2 separate regions of the Homo sapiens genome follow, and region 2 is linked to region 1. The links are contacts of gene promoters, found by promoter capture Hi-C in blood cells and fetal thymus (Javierre and others, 2016). All regions are on one chromosome and are shown on one strand. Each heading gives the region's core, a stretch centred on a gene start or on the middle of the fragment in contact. The rest is flanking DNA. Distances are from core to core; before and after follow the strand shown. Region 1 overlaps POLR2A (RNA polymerase II subunit A). Region 2 holds the start of SPEM1 (spermatid maturation 1).

Region 1 (6,739 bases), core at 3,359-5,858:
CTGCTACTGGGACATGAACCCCAGACTTCCATCTGGGTTGAATTCTAGGTCTCTGACATCCATAGGATTTAGCCACAAAAAGAAATCAAAGTTGCTTCAGGAAAAACAAAAAAACAAAACAATGCTTTATTTGTTCCTCCCAAGCAGAAATCAAGCTCATGAATCTGAGATCCTGGCAGAAGCCTCTCTGTACCTGTACCCTCGCCATGACAGCCCAGGTGTTCTGCACCAAGACATGCCCCGCCAACTCAAGCCCCTGATAAGAAACGAGGCACTCAGAGATGCAGCCCTGTTTCTTTTCCCTCATCTTTGTCATGCCCTCCTTCTCAAGGCCTGAACTGCTTGAACCCTTTCGTGTCCAGATGGAGATTTTATTATTGGTTTTGTTTTGTTTTGAGATGGAGTCTCGCTCTGTCGCCAGGCTGGAGTGCAGTGGCGCAATCGCAGCTCACTGCAACCTCTGCCTCCCGGGTTCAAGTGATTCTCCTGCCTCAGCCTCCCAAGTAGCTGGGACTACAGGTGAGCGCCACCACATCGAGCTAATTTTTGTATTTTTAGTAGAGACAGGGTTTCACCAGGTTGGCCAGGATGGTCTCTTGACCTCATGGTCCACCCGCCTCGGCCTCCCAAAGTACTGGGATTACAGGCGTGAGCCACCGCGCCAGGCCAGAGATTTTATTAAAAGACTGGAGAAACAGGTGCTAGAAAAACAGGTTGGTGGAAATGATTTGAAGCAAAAGTGAATAGCTGGAATCCCAAGAAAGGAAGAGCCAGGACTTGATGGGGACATTTCAATGAAGGAAAGGAGGAAACAGAAGAACTCAGAAGTAGATGGGCCGGGTGCGGTGGCTCACACCCGTAATCCCTGCACTTTGGGAGGCTGAGACGGGTGGATCACCTGAGGTCAGGAGTTTGAGACCAGCCTGGCCAACATAGTGAAACCCCATCTCTACTAAAAATACAAAAAAATTAGCTGGGTGTGGTGATGGGTACCTGTAATCCCAGCTACTCGGGAGGCTGAGGCAGGAGAATCACTTGAACCCAGGAGGCGGAGGTTGCAGTGAGCTGAGATCGCACCACTGCACTTCAGCCTGAATGACAGAGCAAGACTCCGTCTCAAAAAAAAAAAAAAATTGTAATGCTATTGTACACTTAGACTTAGTAGACTACAGCATAGTACTAATGTAACATGCACAATGGCAACCAAAAAACTCCATGTGACTTGCTTTATTGCGGTGGGCTGGAACCAAACTCACAGTATCTCCAAGGTATGCTTGGATACTCATTCTCAACTCTCTAATTCCAGGCCTTACTTTTCTTCTGGACTTTGGGTTCACGTATGTGACTACCTACTGAACCCCCTGCAAACATCACACCAAAAAATCAAATTAAACATGTTTAAAAGCAAACTCTCTTTTCCACAAAAGCTTCTCTTTTTCCTTTAGTCTCTATCCCAGATTCAGAAACCTATGCTTACCTTTCCTTACCTTCAAGCACAAAACAGTCCAAAGAACATGGACTTAGCTGTCGGGCACCCTTGCTTTGGAATTCTGCCTATATTACTTATGAACTATGTAACCATTAAGGACTTAATTAGCTTGCTTAAGTCCAGGATGTAATTGGCGCTTTATGAATGGACATTATTATTATTCAGTCATTCACCAGGTACTGGTCACTTTTACCTCCCTTTTTTTTTTAAGAAGTCTTGCTCTGTCACCCAGGCTGGAGTGCAGTGGCGGGAATCTCAGCTGGGTTTACACACATAAGCCACCACGCCTGGCCTCCTAAGTGTTTCTTGAATCTTGCCTCTCTTCTCCATCCCCACCACCATTGCCCTAGTTCAGGCCCTTCCTTTGTAGTCTACAACAGAGCGTTCCTATGGGTCACCAGCCTGTCTCTCTCCAATCCTTCTACATTACAACTGGGGTGCTCATTCTAAAATAAAAATGTGTGCTAAAAATAAATAAAATAAAAATTAATAATAAACTAAAAATGTAATCATTCATACCCTCTTGTCCTCAGACTGACATCCAAACTCAGCAGGACAGCTTCCCAAAAGGATTTTATGATGTTCTCAACCTTCATTTCCCTGATGCTCCACACCTTCCTGTTCACTCCTCAGTAACAATTCCCTGGAGTCGCCTATCACATCCAGCGCAACACGTGCTGCGTTCCTCCGGGGTTTTCTATATGCTAGTGCCTCTCTGCTTGGAATGCTCTTCCCACTGCAAAACTCCTATTTCAAGACTCGGCTCAGGCACTGCTTCCTCCAGGAAGCCTTTCCACAGCCTGCCCAAAGTAGACAGGCACCCCTCCTCTGTGCTTCCACAGCCCTCTATCACTGCACATACAACAATGCAATAAAATGACCTATGGGGGTCTGTCTTCCCTATAACTATAAGCACCTCTCAGGCAGGCAGAATGCCTCAACCATCCTGAATCCCATGTGCCTGCCTGAAACATGGTGGGCTCCTAACAAATGTCTGTTAAATTGACCTACTGCTTAGGACTCTCCACTGGAGGGAGGTACCCTCAAAAAACTTGGAAAAAGAGAGGTTACCCTCTGACAGTCAAACCAGTAATCCCCTCATAATAGGTCTGATTGGCCACTGCTGGGTAGAAACCAAAATGGTCTACAGATGCAAAGCTGAAGAAGTTCTGCACACCTCTCAGCCTCAGACAGGTTCAAAACTCTCATCAACATGACCTGATGAAATCTCAGGAAGACAGTCCTCATGGATGACTACATTTGCAAAGCTGGAACCTCATCAGCTGCATTGTCTGGTGAGAAACATGAAGGGGATTTGCTCACCTTGAATGAGACCAAAAAAAGCGGAAGCAGTTACGTATCTGGCCTCCACAACAGACACTGCAGAGGGGCCTAAGAGAAATCAGGCTCAACATTTTCAACCTCTTTCTGCTCAAAGTCTATGCCGACCAAGCCAACCACCCTTCTAATGACTAATTCTGCTTTCAGGCTTTCTGAGACCGGGTCAGGGGGTGTCCTAGACAGCAGACACGCATATCCTTGTTAATGAGAAGAGCTATCCCTCCATCACCAAGTTCACGAACTCTCATTTTTTATTTTATTTTACTTTTTTTTTTTGAGACAGGGTCTTGCTGTCACCCCGGCTGGAGTGCAGTGGTACAATCTCGGCTCACTGCCACCTCTGCCTCTCAGGTTCAAGTGATTCTTGTGCCTCAGCCTCCCAAGTAGCTGGAATTACAGGTGCTCACCACACTTGGCTAATTTTTGTATTTTTAGTAGAGACAGGGTTTCACCATGTTGGCCAGGATGGTCTCAAACTCCTGGCCTCAAGTGATCCACTCACCTTAGCCTCCCAAAGTGTTGGGATTACAGTCGTGAGCCACCGCACCAGGCCTCAAACTGTCATTTTAAATTAGCCCCCAACCCTTCGGCCAACAATGGTTCTCACTGCCTACAGGATAAAGGTTAAACACTTGAGGGGGTGGCCAGTCAGGCTGGGTTCTCTTTGGGTTCTGCCCCTGAGGCCACAATAACAAAAGGGCTGTCATTGAATCTCAGTAAATACTCGTCCTCTTTCCTCTGCTTTAGCAAAGCTAACAAGGTCCTTATTACAATTTGGCTTCAAGTTGCTTTTACAGCTTTATTTGGTACCACATTCTCCTACCCGCCTCCCACATTTATGTTCTAAATACAATAGATTTCTCAAATCTCCTTTTGCTTCACACACCCCCTTGGGAGTAAACTTCTATTTATTCTTTAAGACCCAGTTCAGAGGTCACCTCCTTATGAAGTCTTCTCTAACTCTTCCTAGTCTTATGCACACCCCAGCAAGGTTCTCAGCCCAATTTTAATTACTTGGTGACACATCTGTCTCTCTCATTGGACTGTAATCCTTGAGGGCAAGGGTCATGTTTTCTCTTCATATCCTCAGCACCTAGCACAGTAACCAACATATGGTTGAGGCTCAGTAACTATTTGCTGCATACATAGGAAATCCCTCACAAGATTATAGGTAACTTGAAAACAAGGATCATCTTCTCACTCATCAATGTAGCCCACACTCTACCTAAAAGAATACATTATTGACCAGGCGCAGTGGCTCAAGCCTGTAATCCCAGCACTTTGGGACGCCAATGCAGGCAGATCACCTGAGGTCAGGAGTTCGAGACCAGCCTGGCCAACATGGTAAAACCCTGTCTCTAATAAAAATACAAAAACTAGGCCAGGTGCGGTGGCTCATGCCTGTAATCCCAGCACTTTGCGAGGCCAAGGTGGGTGGATCACAAGGTCAGGAGTTCGAGACCAGTCTGGACAACACAGTAAAATCCCGTCTCTACTAAAAATACAAAAAAGAAATTAGCTGGGTGTGGTGGCGTGCTCCTGTAGTTCCTGCTACTCGGGAGGCTGAGGCAGAAGAATCGCTTGAATCCAGGAGGCAGAGGTTGCAGTGAGCACAGACTGTGCCACTATACTCCAGCCTGGGCAACAGAGCTGGAGTCCGTATCAAAAAAAAAAAGAACAGATTACTGCTTTAAATCCTTATTTAAATAAGTCAGGGTATAAATAAGTTATGCATTCCATGATAGACAGTTGTTTTTAATGAATAGGGGTCAACTACTGCGAAGGAAATCCAGCACCCTCTTTCCCCAAAATTTTGTGCACACGCTGGTACAAAGCTCTAGTACCAACCCGCCTTGTAACCTTCCCCTCACCTAGCAACATCTAAATCCATCTTCTAACAGCAAGGACAACAGCTCTATCTCAAAGCCAATTCAAAGACCCCTCCGTACCTCCATACACTCTGACCCCTAAGACTTCTGTAAAACATTTTAGCCTAAAATACCACCTGTTTCACAACAAGAGGCACCTTACTCACCCTCACCCATCCTTCTACCCAAAATTGAACCGTCTGTTGGTCCCTCAAAATACAGACATCGTATAAACTGCAAGACATGCAGAGCACTATCGAAGCCCAACAATCCTACACCCCAGAGATGACTCTGGTAGAGCTTTGTCAACAGTGTCCCATACTTTTATTTGTTATTATTCCATCTTGGGTCAGTACAACCTCCGCCTACCAGGTTCAAGTGGTTCATATGCCTCAGCCTCCCAAGTAGCTGGGATTACAGGCACCCACGACTACACCCAGCTGCTTTTTATATTTTTAGTACAGACGGGGTTTCACTAGGCTGGACAGGATGGTCTTGAACTCTTGACCCTCGGGGATTTGCCCACCTTGGCCTCCCGAAGTGCTGGGATTACAGGAGTGAGCCACCGTGCTCAGCCCATTTGTTATTATTATTTTTAAATTGAGATAGGGTCTTGCTGTGTTGCCCAGGCTGGTCCTGAACTCCTGGCCTCAAATGATCCTCCTGCCTCAGGCTCCGAAAGTGCTGGGATTACAGGCATGAGCCACGGCATGCATTTTTTTTCATGCTTTAAAAAAACCGTAAATACGTTCCCACTTTAACATAAGGCCTTCACTCTGCATACTTCTGAGTAACTTTTTCATTTATCCATAGATTCCCTAACATTATCAACAGCCCACAGTGCCCTTACCATTTCAGTAACTCTCACAGCACTTACTAGGTCAAAAGAGAGCCACAGCCGAGCGCGGTGGCTCACACCTGCAATCCCAGCACTTGGGGAGGCCAAGGTGGGCAGATCACTTGAGGTCAGAAGTTTGAGACCGGTCTGGCCAATGTGGTGAAACCCTGTCTCTACCAAAAATACAAAAATTGCCGGGCATGGTGGCGGATGCCTGTGATCCCAGCTGCTTGAGAGGCTGAGGGAGGAGAGTAGCTTGAACCCAGGAGGCAGAGGTTACAGTGAGCTGAGATCTCACCTCTGCATTCCAGCCTAGGCAACAGAGCAAGACTCCATCTTTCCAAGAAAAGACAGCAATTTATTAAGCACCTAGACCCAAACAACTTAAGCATTTATGTCCTAGGAACTTACTAGCCATTTGAGAAAATACACACAAGTTGAAAATACTATTAATATATTAAAACAAAATAACATTTTTATTTCTTTACCAAATAACCATCTCACTCACTTATGGCGCCTGTTAGGCACTGCACCTCTCAAACCTTGGAATCAGACTAAACAGCACCACCTTTATTTCTTCTACAAACTGATTTTTGCCTGTACTTAGCAACTGCTAAAAACCCAGTTTCACAAAAATATGACATTATAGAAAGGGATTTGGCACCATCTAATGTTGAAACAGAACTACCAGGAACTAGGAGTTCCAGGGTATCTGACAAATGTACCTGTGTTTCTCTTGGAAATTTAAAATACCTCACTGTGCCCACCGTGTGCCACAGTGTCTCAGGGCATCAGCACAGTGTGGGACCTTATTGGGAAGTTCCTCTATTACATTGTAAGAATACACCCTAAGTTATTCAACAGGATTCCTATTAGTAAATACCGAGTAATTTATAATTGTCACTTTCAAACAATGTTGCAATAAAAGTCCTTCTACATTATCTATGCATATTTGCCCAATTATTTCATTCACTTGTTTATTCAACTAATTTTTATTACATGTCTATCATGTGCCAGGCACTACCTGAGATACTAAGGGAACATGAATAACACAGACAAAGTCCCTCATGAAATTCATTCTCTAGCAAGGAAGCAAGAAACAGAAAAACTAATCCTTTCTGGAGTGACAGGCTGTGAAGGAAAATATAGCAGAGAATGATCAGAGAAAACAAGGGAAGGGCGGGGGATGCTATTTAAACAGAG
Region 2 (6,524 bases), core at 3,600-6,099, 71 kb after region 1:
GCCCCTCCCTACTCTGCCCATTTCCCTGTCAAAAGTCCTCTAGCTCCCATCTCTGCCCAATTCTTCCTGGCCAGACTCCAGCCCTAGGTGTTGGTGGTCCTTGAGCCCACCAGCCACTTCGTCACACTGACATCTGACTCACTGAGGTGGCTGCCTCTGCTGGGAACCAACCCCAGCCATGGTTTCTCCAACCTAACCACCTACACTCCCACCAACCCACCCTTACTCCAAGGTGAAAAACGGTTAAGCTACTACCTGAAGAAAACCCGAGCTGGGCGCGGTGGCTCATGCCTATAATCCCAGCACTTTGGGAGGCTGAGGTGGCTGGATCACCTGAGGTCAGGAGTTCCAACCTGGCCAACATAGTGAAACCCCGTCTGTATTAAAAATACAAAAATTAGCTGGGTGTGGTGATGCGCGCCTGTAGTCCCAGCTACTCGGGAGGCTGAGGCAGAAGAATCATTTGAACCCAGGAGGTGGAGGTTGCAGCAAGCTGAGCTCTCGCCATTGTACTCCAGCTTGGGTGACACATCGAGAATCTGTCTCCAAAAAAACAAGAAAGGAAGGAAGGAAGGAAGGAAGGAAGGAAGGAAGGAAGGAAGGAAGGAAGGAAGGAAGGAAGGAAACTTGCTGGGCGCAGTGGCTCACGCCTATAATCCCAGGCAGGTGGACCACCTGAGGTCAGGAGTTTGAGACCAGCCTGGCCAACATGGCGAAACCTCTACTAAAAACACAAAAATTAGCTGGGCATGTTGGTGGGCGCCTGTAATCCCAGCTACTTGGGAGGCTGAGGCAGGAGAATTGCTTGAACCTGAGAGGTGGAGGTTGCAGCGAGCCAAGATCGCGCCACAGAAGTCCGGCCTGGGTGACAGAGTGAGACTGTCTCAAAACAAACAAACAACCCAACAACAACAACAACAACAACAAGAAAACCACATGAAATTAACAAAGCACAAAATACATGTAATTGTTAATATACCAAAAAGAGTGTTTGACTTAAAACAGGTGCATCACTGGGGTCTGTGGTGCCCTGGAGACTGCAAGCCATTTGTTTACACAGTGAACCACTCAGCAGAAAGAAAGGCCAGTGATCATATCCCATCCAGCCTCCAAACACAGAGTAGATGCAGAGTAGATTCAGATTCCACTGAATGGAATCCATTGAAAATGATCAGTAACGTTAGTTGAATGAGAGAAGTAGGGCCATTTGTAAACGGTCCGTCTGCTCACATTCCAGGAATCTGTCTAGAGTGGAAGGTGAAGTCCAGCTCCCTCAGCCTGGGCTCACGCACACAGCTGCTTGTTCTCAAGTGGTATGTGTGTGCATGTGCATATGATCCCAATTGTGTAGCAGAAAGGCAGGGCCTGAGTTTCTCTGTTTCTCAGTTTCTGAGTTCACATGGTGAACTGGGGAAGGTGGGAGGTTCTGGTGGGTCAGGCTGGCTCTGCAGCAATGGGATGGAGCATCTGAGGCCATGAGCTTGATCCTCAGTGTCTGTGTAACCATGAGCAAGACCCTTAGCTTCTCTGAACTTAGTCTCCTCACTGGTGACATGGTGAGTTAATCAAAGGAGTGAGGTCACAGAGAGCTGTGATGTTACAGTGAGGTACCTCTTGAGGGGGGCCCCAATATTTCTCTTCTTTTTTTTTTTTTTTGAGATGGAGTCTCGCTCTGTTGCCCAGGCTGGAGTGTAGTGGTGCAATCTCGGCTCACTGCAAGCTCCGCCTCCTGGGTTCACACCATTCTCCTGCCTCAGCCTCCCAAGTAGCTGGGACTATAGGCGCCCACCACCACGCCCGGCTAATTTTTTGTTTTCATATTTTTAGTAGAGATGGGGTTTCACCATGTTAGCCAGGATGGTCTCAATCTCCTGACCTTGTGATCTGCCCGCCTCGGCCTCCCAAAATGCTGGGATTACAGATGTGAGCCACCACGCCCGGCCTTTTTTTTTTTTTTTGATGGAGTCTCGCTCTGTCGCCCAGGCTGGGGTGCAGGGGCGCCATCTTGGCTAACTGCAACCTCTGCCTCCCACGTTCACACCATTCTCCTGCCTCAGCCTCCCAAGTAGCTGGGACTACAGGCGCCCACCATCATGCCCAGCTAATTTTTTTATTTTTTATTTTTCATTTTTTAGTAGAGACGGGGTGTCACTGTGTTAGCCAAGAGGTCTCGACCTCCTGACCTCGTGATCCGCCCGCCTCGGCTTCCCAAAGTGCTGGGATTACAGGCGTTAGCCACTGCGCCCAGCCAAGGGGGCCCCAATATTTCCTCCTCTGCTCCAATCCTGCTTAAGGGTATAGGACCTTCAGGGTGACTGGGGAACTGTGAAGGACTAGACGCCCTCTCAGCCATCCCTCCCCAAATAAATCAGGGCTTACGTGGGAACCAGGCCTCACCGGTGGCTGCAGCCTAACGCTGGGCTCTGGCAGGCACCAGCCTTCTGAGGAGCTAGGGCCATGGAGATGGAGATCTCTCCTCTAGTGCACGACTGCCTGGGGACCTGGGGTAGAATTTAGGGGCTTCTCTGTGCACTAAAGAAAACAAGGAATTAACTGGGCGTGGTGGTGCCTGTTGTCCCAGCTACTCAGGAGGCTGAGGCAGGAAGACTGCTTGAGCTCAGGAGGTTGAGTCTCCAGTGAGCCATGATTGCACCACTGCCCTCCAGCCTGAGTGACAGATCAAGACCCTGCCTCAGGGGAGGGGGAGGAAACAGTCCGGGCACAGTGGCTCACACCTGTAATCCCAGAACTTTCAGAGGTTGAGGCAGGCAGATCGATTGAGCCCAGGAGTTTGAGACCAGCCTAGGCAAAGTAGTGAAACCCAATCTCTACAAAAAATAGTGGTGCGGCTGGGGTGGGGTGGCTCACACCTGTTATCCCAGCACTTTGGGAGGCTGAGGCGGGCGGATCACCTGAGGTCAGGAGTTCAAGACCAGCCTGGCCGACATGGCAAAACCCCATCTGCACTAAAAATACAAAAATTAGCAGGGCATGGTGGCACACGCCTGTAGTCCCAGCTACTCAGGAGGCTGAAGGCAGGAGAATTGGTTGAACCTGGGAGGCAGAGGTTGCAGTGAGCCAAGATTGTGCCATTGCAGTCCAGTGTGGGTGACAAGAATAGGACTCTGTCTTAAAAACAAAAACAACCCCCCCCACACAAAAACCAACCAACCGAACAAACAACAACAACAACAACAAACTAGTGGCCCATGCCTGTAGTCCTAGTGACTCAGGAGGCTGAGGTGGGAGACAGTTGGGACTGCAGTGAACTGTGATTGCACCACTGCACTCCAGCCCGGGCAACAGAGAAGACCCTGTCTCAAAAAAAAAAAAAAATTGAAAACAAGGTAGAGGCAGGTAAGAGCCTTGGAACCCAGAAGGGCCTAGGAAAGGCTGAGGACAGGGACAGGCCTGTGGGGCAAAAGGTTAATGAGGGTCCTCAGGGCTCAGGGCCCTGTGGCTAGGGAGAGCATTCTCTTCACAGCCACAGCTTCTAGGTGCTGTGTGGGCCCTGGCACCCCAGCACCACCACAGATCACCTCCTCTCTCCTTTTTATTTTTTTCCAGTCACCTCCCAGTTAGGGAACGGTACACCCAATTCTTGCTTGTCTCCTCGGCAGTGCTGGATCCAGAGGCTAGGGGGTAGCAGCCGGACAGGGCCTCCACCTCCCGGGTCAGTTCCCGAAGCCGCCGTCTCATGTCCCGGGCATCATACACTATTCGGCCTGAGGAGCGGTGCCGGGAAAATTCAGGGATGACTGCTGGGCCCAGGGTGGGAGCTGGGACAGGCTGGTACTGAGCCGCCTCTGCCTCTGGCACCGCCCCCTCCCCACCGTTCTTGTGGCTAGGAGCCTCAGGGCTGGGAGGTGGGGGGTTCACAGGATACACATAGGCCCTTAGGCCCAGCTCGGACCATATGCCTGTTTTGAGGGGCCTTTCCTCTACGGTAGGCTGGAAGCGGATGGTCTGGGGAGGGGACTCTGGGGCATCCTGAGACCAGGGAACCCAGGTCCCCTGAGTGTGTTGGAAGCCTTCCCAGTCCTCAGGGACATCCCAGTGGTAGGAGCAGATGGCTGGGTACTGATGAGGCTTCTCGTCATCAGTGTCAGGAGCCCAAGCTACTGGGCAGTGAGCACAGCGTGTGGGAGAGCCTCGACGGCGATGGCGGTGAGCTGGGGGCGGGGACACAGTCATCATCACAGGGTCCATGGTGCACCGAAGATGGACTGCAGGAGAACTCTGCTTCTTAGGGGGCTGGGTCTGCTTTCTGAGTAATGATGACTTGGGAGCTTCTGTGGATGGGGGAGAGGTGAGACTAGTGGGGAGGCCAGCTCCTACAGGCATGGAGAGGCAGGGCCCAGGAAGGGCAGCCACACAGCTATGTTGTCTGAGAGGGGCGAGCAAGAAGGGAAGGGGCTAATTTAGGGCTGAGGCTAGAGCACTTGGTTTCTGCCCCTCCTATGTCCCAGCCCCCAGACCTCTTACCTTTCTCACAAATGGTATCATGGAACACTTGGTATAAGACACCACGGAATCGGCTCCAGAGCTAGGTGGGGGAAGACACAGTGATCCCAGGTAGGCCCTGGCCGGCAGGCCTGCCCCCCACTATCCCACCAGCTCCCTCCCATCTGGCCCCACCCTGACCAGGGTCACTATATTGATGCTAATGTTAATGCAGATGATGAGGCCCAGCAGCAACAGGACAGAGTTGCCCAGGTCCTGGCAGCTGTTGCTGTTGCAGTTGTGATACGAGGCCCACTCGGGCCTCGGCCGCTCAACCATGGCCATGGGGTCCCTAGGACCACCGGGGCCCTTACGCCCCCAGCCCACCGTGCCGACAGTGTCCACTGACTGCCTGCCTGTCCCTGAGGGTCTTGGGAGTGAACGGGTCACAATGGTGCCAGGCCACTCCCTTCCAGTGTGCCAAGGGGCTACCCTGAGTCCTGGACCCGTGGCTGACCCTCTCGCCTGAGTCCAGGCCTTGGCAGAGGCCATGCCTCTCACCTCACATACCTCTGCTGAGCTAGCTGCCTACACCAGCCCACTGGGCCTCTGGCCTGTTTGACATCTGCCCCCATCAGCCTTTGTCCTTCCATTATAGAACGACACCAGGCTCCAGTCTCGGCATAGACACGGGTCCTGACATTCATTTGCCAAACAGACCCATTACCATGGCAACCAGACCCCAGCACACACTCCCCCTTCCTCTCAGACCTCAGAGCTGGTCACTGAAAAGACCCCTCCTCCCTCGTCACTTCCCCAGGGCTTGTTTCTTTAGAGACCGCCCTCCCCACAACAGAGCAGGCACAACCAACAGTTAAACTTTTATATTTACAATATTCTCTTCATCTTTTGCCAGGTTTAAAAATGTGTACAGAGCCGCAAAGGGTTGGGGTAGGGATAAGGGATTGTCGGGATTGTTTTGGGGAGAGGAGCTGGGCATTGGAGTCCGTGGCTGAATCATGGGGTCCCCCAGCCCCCCTCCCATGCCCCAATTCTGAGGGCATCTGTCTACAGGGTTCAGGGCCCAGGTCTCTAGCATTTGGAGGGCATGGCTGTTTGGAGAGGAGCTAGACCAGGCAGGGGAAAGGATCAGAAAATAACTAATTTTCCATGGATGGAGGTAGGAAGAGAAGGGACAGTCAAGAGGCAAAGTTCTGGGGACTCAAGACCAGGGATTCTGGATTTGGGTGTCAGTGGAAGACAGCACCCCAGCCCCTATTCAAGTTTGGCACTAACACCCCACAAAATGCCAGCAGATGAGGACTCTCCCCTCGTCCACTGTGTCCCTTAAGCCCTTCCAGACATCATTCTTTTCCCAAATGCCCAAGCCCAAGGCCCTCCGGGGAGTCACCTCACACATTTCAAATTATTCCTGCTGGTGTCTGCCCAAGCCCTGTCCCCACTGCCCCCTCCATCTGTTCCCCAGCACCGCTGACCTCATTCTCCCAACCTGTCCGGTGAGACCTTTCTCCCCACTGCCTCCCTCCACCATTCAAGGCTCCTTTCTTTCAGACAAGGAGGGGGCGTGGGTCAGAGGAGGGTGGTCAGCTGAGGAGAAGGCTGGTCTGACACTGAGATGGGGACAGCTTCAAAGAGGGGGACGGAGATGAAGGGGAACGGAGAACTGAGGCAGGGTGGGGGAGACATGGTGAGGAGAAGGGGCACAGGCGGGAGCCCCCTCACCTGCCACATCCCTCGCCCTGTATCCTGCTTGCCCTTAGTTTCCCCTGCCCTGCCTGGGACTGGGAAATTCTTGGCACATTTTGGGAGTCTTTCCGCTCAAATCCACCTACCCAGTTTGGCACGGATGAGCAATGCTCTGAGGCCTGGGGAAAAGGCTGTCCTCGGACCACAATGAGGGCTTTGGTCAAACATGCGTGGCCTCTGCGGGGGGCACGTTGCCACACCCCCTCCCCCCAACTCGGGAGCAAGGGCCGGGCCTCCCTCGGGGTTTGTTCACCCTCCTCAGCTCCTGCCAACTAGAAGTCTGTGCTCACCTGCCATGTGAGGAGGAACTGGGT

What was found. The method cuts DNA at HindIII sites, captures the fragments that hold promoters and counts their contacts. A CHiCAGO score of 5 or more calls a contact.
Region 2: the fragment with the promoter of SPEM1 here is called in contact with a fragment that was not itself captured in region 1 in 11 of 17 cell types (naive CD4 T cells, total CD8 T cells, naive CD8 T cells and 8 more); the score reaches 9.7 in naive CD4 T cells.

The regions. Positions count from the first base shown.
Region 1 is chr17:7,488,933-7,495,671 of GRCh38, reverse strand. All of the region lies in intron 1 of POLR2A (RNA polymerase II subunit A), which reads right to left. Among named protein-coding and RNA genes, the nearest start is that of POLR2A, 7.9 kb to the right of the region's middle. The HindIII fragment of the contact is 6,358 bases long and covers 1,430-6,739 here.
Region 2 is chr17:7,418,649-7,425,172 of GRCh38, reverse strand. SPEM1 (spermatid maturation 1) reads right to left here and starts at 4,849. Exons shown (of 3, transcript NM_199339.3): 1 at 4,645-4,849; 2 at 4,486-4,546; 3 at 3,541-4,292. The coding sequence starts at 4,788. The coding sequence ends at 3,568. It overlaps NLGN2 (neuroligin 2), which reads right to left. Exons shown (of 7, transcript NM_020795.4): 7 at 5,313-6,524. RefSeq lists an enhancer at 4,846-5,365. The HindIII fragment of the contact is 12,172 bases long and covers 1-6,524 here.